Regions from separate parts of the Homo sapiens genome. Here region 2 is linked to region 1. The links are contacts of gene promoters, found by promoter capture Hi-C in blood cells and fetal thymus (Javierre and others, 2016). All regions are on one chromosome and are shown on one strand. Each heading gives the region's core, a stretch centred on a gene start or on the middle of the fragment in contact. The rest is flanking DNA. Distances are from core to core; before and after follow the strand shown.

The links. Contacts are between HindIII fragments. The CHiCAGO score rates a contact against its expected background, and 5 or more counts as called.
Region 2: a fragment that was not itself captured here is called in contact with the fragment with the promoter of SEC24B in region 1 in 1 of 17 cell types (M2 macrophages); the score reaches 5.4 in M2 macrophages.

The regions. Positions count from the first base shown.
Region 1 is chr4:109,432,492-109,436,068 of GRCh38, reverse strand. SEC24B (SEC24 homolog B, COPII component) reads right to left here and starts at 2,254. Exons shown (of 24, transcript NM_006323.5): 1 at 2,067-2,254. The coding sequence starts at 2,199. SEC24B-AS1 (SEC24B antisense RNA 1) reads left to right here and starts at 2,252. Exons shown (of 3, transcript NR_039978.1): 1 at 2,252-2,335. RefSeq lists enhancers at 1,275-1,424, 1,501-2,360 and silencers at 1,242-1,536, 1,915-2,184, 2,235-2,624. The HindIII fragment of the contact is 940 bases long and covers 1,407-2,346 here.
Region 2 is chr4:109,957,004-109,960,355 of GRCh38, reverse strand. EGF (epidermal growth factor) reads right to left here. Exons shown (of 24, transcript NM_001963.6): 6 at 919-1,044. Among named protein-coding and RNA genes, the nearest start is that of EGF, 46 kb to the right of the region's middle. RefSeq lists an enhancer at 1,066-1,235. The HindIII fragment of the contact is 2,323 bases long and covers 120-2,442 here.

The sequences.
Region 1 (3,577 bases), core at 1,005-3,504:
CTTTCTGCAACCTGACCCCTTTTAACCTGCTCCTTTCGGCTTCGATGCCTTGGCTTCCCATGCCACCCAGCACCCTCTGCACCTCTTGACTCCTTCCACTTTCCAAGCATGCCCTGCACTTTCATATTTCCAAACTTTAGTTCATGCTGTAACCTCTGCCTAGAGTCAACCTTTCCCTCCCACCCCAACCTGTCGAGTCCCTCAAGGCTAGCCAGAACCAATTCAAACATTACCAAATACAGGGCAAGTCAGGAGAGAGGCAGGGACTCTGTCTCATCTGCTACCCTAACCTTGAGTCCCCAACTGGTAAGCATGCAATAAATGTTGAAATGATTATTGCAACATTAAAGGAAAGTAGTGATTATAAACAAGAGAACTCAAGCATCATCTATATTTGGCATCAAAACATTGATTTGTTCTTACAGATTTTAACATCCTGATTACACTTGGCTGAGTACATATCCTGGCATTCTTGAGTGTTCACAAAATTTATAAGGCTGTAATAAACATTTGCCACTTTAAAAACTGTTCACTAAGATGATAATGCATATTCAGAAAATCAAGGAAAGACACAATCCTTGAATCACTGGTAAACATGAGTCTACAATGTTCTAAAAGACTTGGGCTCTTTTACTAAATTATCGTGTTCTAGTTCCTTCATAAAGCTATTTTAAAAACAAACAAAAACAAGAACTTATATTAAGGTTACAAGAACAAACACTGCTCACAAATAGTATTTTTACATTTGTTCAGAACAGGTTTATATCCAAAAGCGATTATAGTAAACAATGACTACTGAGAGTACAGCATGTAATACTGATAGGTAAGGCTGATCCAAAGAATATTAAGGCTAAAGTATCACTCAACTTCTGATCCTCAGGACAAACGATACACTTCATGTTTGAAAAGCATCAGTTGTAAAACTTAGATGTTGATTAAACTAATTCATAAAGTCCAGCAGATTTTCATTAGGAAATTAGATAAAACAGGTCAATCATCTGGAGAGTACTAATGCAGTTTGGTTCTCGTACCAACACAGGACAGAGGTATTTTTCTAAATTCAGTCAATTACTTTCCAAGGTTCTCATCTGACATACTAAGAAGTCTGTAAGGAGAATTCCTCCACCCTTGGCCCCTATCCGCGAACATTCCAAATCTCAGCATTAGGGAATGCATATCCATCATTTTGCAGCCTACTAAAAGCCCACGACCTTAATATGAAAGCGGCTTTCGTGCTGCATTTGGCTGCTGCCTGTATGAAGGCCCTGCCTCAAAGCAGGGCCAACTCTGGCACGTTTTTTCATCTCTGAAAGTGGAGCTAGGAAAAACACCCAGATCTAAAGATGTTCGTTTAAATCCGTTTACATCTGCTCCCTTTCAAACACTACAAGCAAACTCCAAAAGCTTGAGCAGCAGCCGCAGCGGCAATGACAGTTCTTGAGGCCGAACTGGGTCAGGGTTACAGTTACACTTATATAGCATATTTACACCCTTTTGTCTACAAACTTGAGTGCAAACTTAAGTTTCCTCAAGGCAGCGTGTTCGCTGGGCCTCGGGAACCGAAGCAATTTTCCTGAGACAGGAAGGGCACAATCCACCCTGCTGGGTGGCTGCACCAGCCTTCTCCGGACCACGCACTCAGCGGCCTCGGCTTCTGGCCAGCTCTCGCAGCCAAGGGGTCGCTCGGGGCAACTCGCCCGCGTCCAGGCTAGGTAACTGGGTTTTACTACGTGGGCTCCCAGCTTTTCAGTCGCCCCTACTCGCCCGAGGCCGTTTCGGGCCTGGGGTCGCATTACATAAACAGCCACGGCCCCAGCTTTCCCAGGCCGGCCCCCGCCCCCACGCCAGGGGCGTCCCACCCCCGCGCGCCCCGCGCCGTGCCTTCCCTGCCCCCTACCCGCACCCAACCCGGACCCCGCGGCCTCCGCACCGCGCCCGCTCCCGTCCCTCGGGCCGGGCCTGGCCCCGAACGCCCTTCCCGGCCCGGCCCGCCCCGCCCCGATGTGGCCGTGCAGGCCGCCCAGCCGGTGCTAGGCCCCGCGCTCCGCCCGGGCCGCCCGCCTCACCGTTCTGCTGGTGCGGCGCCGGGCCCGCACCCGGGCCCGCGGGCGCTGCGGCTCCTGAGACGGCCGCTCCGCCGAACTTGGGCGGGATCCGGGCGCTGGCGGCCGGGTGAGAGGACCCGGCGGGGGCCGACATGACGGCGCTGGTGGCGACGGCGGCTCCGCTTCAGGGAGGTGGGCGGAGGGAAGGGAAGGCGGGGCCGGAGAGGAGAGAGGAAGAGGAAGGAACGCGCCTGGCGTCACTGAGGGTGTCACCCGGGACCGCGGCTCAGGTACCCAAGCTTCTCCGCGAGTCCAGCGCTGCCACTCGGCGGCCGCCGCGGGCGCGGGGATCCTGGGTCGCTCCGCCTTGACCCACGCGCCCCACGCCCCGGGACTTACACCTGGGGTCGCTCCCCGCACGCGCGGGCCTCGCGCCGGTGCCGCCGCAGCGCCCCCTGCAGGCCGGAGCCGAGCTGGCCCAGGCCTGAGTCTGGCCCGGGGTTCCGTGGCCCCAGTGCCGGCCCCGCGGCTGCTGCTCCGGCCCGGCCAGGTGCCTTCGTGTTGAGGCGAAAGGACTGGGCCTCAGTGGGTGAAGGGACCGGGTGGCCCGCTTCCACCTAGGGCAGAGGCTGGATCGGCCGCGGCGAGGCTGGGCCCAGCATTACTGGGAGGGGAACTTGAGAGCCGCGGGTTGATGTTCGGAGCTCAGGCGACGACTGACCACCCACCCTTCCTCGAAGAGGAACAATGGCTTGGGTTTGGTTTTTAATTTTTGATTCCCCCACCTCCCCTTTCTTGATTCCAAAGGAAATATAGCATTCAAGCGCCATGTCTGTTGGGAATATATAATTCCTTGGCAAAGAAAGAGGAAACATTTCTCTGATAAACACAAGAATCTCAGTAAGAATTGCATTATTGAGAACTTTTCCCACTGATAAAGTAGGGAAGAGGAAGGGGAAAATAGGGTAAGGGAATGCTGGAAGACAAACTTTAAACTTTATCTCCTTTTTTTTTTTTTTTTTTGTCGATTGTTGGTGCATCCTGTTGGTGTTCCGAGAAGTTGTGGCTCAGCTTGCTTTGTCTACATTAGTGGAATCTTTAAGTCTTTCTGGTCTGTCTCAGCATACTCACTGGCAGGCCCTAGACTACATTACCCAAGTCATTTTGCCGTCTTGGAATCCTGAGTATGTCATCACTCTGTATTGGAGATGAGATTGCTCAGAAACACTGAATTCAGAATGGGATCTAGCAAGATGGTATTTCTGGAGCAATAAGTCATTTACTGAATGATTATGCAAAGCATAAATTGCATTGTAGTCCTAGAATAATACAAAGCTTCCCTTTAGTTGTTGCCGTAAATTAATAACTGGCATTTTAATGCACTAAATGAATTTTAGTAGTTAGATTTATATCTTTGACTTCTAGGAATTTCAACTACATTAGAGTTCATATACACAAAAGGGGCAAGCCCTTTTCCACAGCATTTCCAGCTTCTCCACAGAAACCTAGCCCCACATGAGCAAAAGATCACA
Region 2 (3,352 bases), core at 32-2,531, 530 kb before region 1:
TACTTTCAAATACAGATTTTCATATTAGAATAACCCTTGGGAAAAAGGTAGTATTATTTCCCTTGAAAAGATATAGCATGCCATTTCAGTTAGGGACTCTTGAAAGCTCTTTACAAGCTTAGGACATTTCCTATTGTGCTCTTCAACCTTCAAGACTGACCAGAGCCCTTTCCCTAAATGTGGAAACCTTCTCCAGCAGTTTTATTCTGGCTGAAGCCCCAGCCTTCCAGCTCACTATCTCTATGCCATGGCTTTCACCCATTGGTCCCATGTAAGCAGGGGGTTATAATTAACAGGCAGATGCTAGATTTACCTGAGGTCTCACCCCAGCTAATTCCACTGTATGTGTGCTGCAGCCATTGGATTCTTTTCATCACTAAACTACTGCACCTTCCAGGAAAAAGGACATAGTATTTCTCCTGAGTTCGTTGCACTTGGTCCAGAATCTCAAAACAGGAGGATTCTTAGACAAACCAGCCTGGCTCAGTTTCCCAGGCTTCCTACTAGATCTTCTTGGGATAAGATAGGAGTCACAGACTCTTTGAGACTCTTACGATCCCTATGAAACCACTCCCCTAAAAATGTACACATACTGAAATTTTGCACACAAACGCAGAGGTTGGTAGAATCCACTTAGAGAATCCCTGCCTTATATCAACCCCTAAGCATCCTCTCAGTGTTTGATCTAGAAACACAAGATATGAAGATAGGAAAGTATTATAAAGGTTTTACAAACAAGAAAAAATAAATAAAAAATAGTCTTCAGGGGTTGTGTGGGGGACGGGGAGAATGGACTTGAAGTTGGTTTTCCACTGAGTCTCTGGCTGGCCCACTGAAGACAAGCCGCTGGCTCAGTTGAGCATTCCTCCCCTCAAGCAGCGACTCTTCCATTACCTTCACAGTACTTCCAGTCATTACCTTCACAGTACTTCCGGTCTCGACTTAGGGCGTATCCCTCTGCACACATGCACAAGTGTGACTGGAGGTCTTGCCCACACACAGTGCTGCTGCAGTTTCCTTTCCTCAATTTGCAAAGTTTCTGCTCTAAAAGAGAAGATGCTTTATTTGGAGTGGGGCCGTGTTTTGACAGAGGACACTGCTAAATCTTTTCCTGATTCTTAAGAGGTCTTACCTCCCTACAACGTCTACAGCTGCATCTCTCACGGAGGCAAACTTAGCCAGAGCCCAGATTCCCCAGCATCCCGAAGCCCACTTTTTTCTCCAATTGTATTACTTCTCCAAAACCTCTCAGGATTGGGCATCCTGATTAGCTGGAGATGTCATTTCTTAGGTTGCGAATACTAAACACTACTTATTAGCTTTTTCATTCTAATGTACTTTTATCACAAAAAAGCACACATTCTGCAAATGAAATAATCTGCTTAGGAAATGAAAACAGATTCAAACCTAAGAATACTTTTTTTTTTTTTTTTTTTTTGAGACAGGGTCTCCCCCTGTCACCCAGGCTGGAGTGCAGTGGCACAATCTTGGCTCACTGCAACCTCAGCCTTCTGTGTTCAAGCGATTCTCCTGCCTTGGCCTCCTAAGTAGCTGGGATTACAGGTGCACACCACCACACCTGGCTAATTTTTGTATTTTTAGTAGAGACGGGGTTGGCCAGGCTGGTCTCGAACTCCTACCTCAAGTGATCTGCCCACCTCAGCCTCCCAAAGTGTTGGGATTATAGGCATGAGCCACTGTGCCTGGCCAAGAATACTTTTTAAGTGTAATATTTATAGGTTAGATATGTAAGCTATTTAGCTGTTTTTAACATCATTATTTAATGAACATCTTTCAGACTCAATATATACCATTGCCATATCTCTGCTCCTCAAATTTCTGTAGTTATTGCTGCCAGTGTCCCACGTGTTCCAAATATTCCATAATAAACAGTAAAATCTGCTCAGCGAGTTGGGTGTTTGGGTTGAATTAGCCAGCTATATTGAATAAGTGGTCAATTTTGTACCATTGGGATTTTCAGAGCCAGAATCAAGGGCTAAACTAGTAACACCTACAGTTGGCCCTCCATATCTGTGGATTCAACCAACTTAGGACTGAAAATATTTGGGAAAAAAAATTCCACAAAGCAAAGTTCCAAAAAGCAAAACATGAATTTGCCACATGCCAAGCACTATGTTGAATTCACAGGAATGAAGTGATGTAGGCATTGTATTAGGTATTATAAGTAATTTGGAGATGATTTAAAGTATATGGGAGGATGTGGCTAGGTTATATACAAATACACCGTTTTATATTAGAACTTAAGCATCTGCAGATTTGGGTATCTTGGGGGATACCAATCCCCCACGGATACTGGGGGACAACTGCATATCTCTTTCCAAAAAGTTAATGAGATTTTTGTCTCTTTTGCACCTTATTTTTTGCCCATTTTAAAAACAATAGCACCATTGTAAAATACTATGAGAAATACAGTAGCAAGCTTGAGCGTAAGGGCAGATACCTAGAATGCAGGTAGATACAGAGGCCAGAGGCCTGGCAAGAGGTGAAGGCCAAGGAAAACTATTGGGGTCATGGATTCTGAAGCCATGGCATTGTTAAAATCAGCTAGAGCTGATGTATCATGGGAAAAGCTGAGGACCTAAGGAAAGGACTGCTGAGAACACCACCATTGCTGGGAAGGACACAGGAAACAAATCAGCAAGAGCCTGAGCAAAGCAGGCAGAGGGCCTGAGACTGTTCTCCAAATAGGCTTGGTTTCTCTGATCTGTTTATCTACTAATAAAGAAGTCTCCTTTGTCTGTACCCATTTGCTTCTACTTCAAATCTCAAAAGATAAAATTTCAACACATTTAATTAAATGATCAAATTGGCTTTTATTTGGGATTCATGAATTGGGCAACATCTTGTCTAAAAATAGACAGATGCTACACTGGCTGTGGCAGCACATTCACTTTTGTGATATTGCTTGAGCATGATATATATAGTGGATTGGTTAACATCAGTTTACTTCAGGTTACTTTCCTCGTAAAGGTTAAACCAGATGGGATTTCCTTATGATACCAGTTAAAGCTGACCTGTTTGGGGATTTGGCTATCATCTCTCTCCTGATCCGTCAGGGGGTCAGATAAACAAGTTAGTTTTGGTGTGTTGATGTGGAATTTTAGCATGAGTGACTTCATTTTGGTTTGGTCTGTTGGGGCCTATTGCAGGAGCTCAGTCTAAATCAGTTGCCTCCCATAAATTTTATTTAACATCACTAGACATGACCAATAACAGTAAGATTCAGTAGAAACATATTCTTGCCCCCTTGAAAATGTCCCTAGTGTACATTGAGATAACCGGAGAGTATGCCACCCTCTAGAGATTCTGATTTGGTAAATCAGAGGCTCAG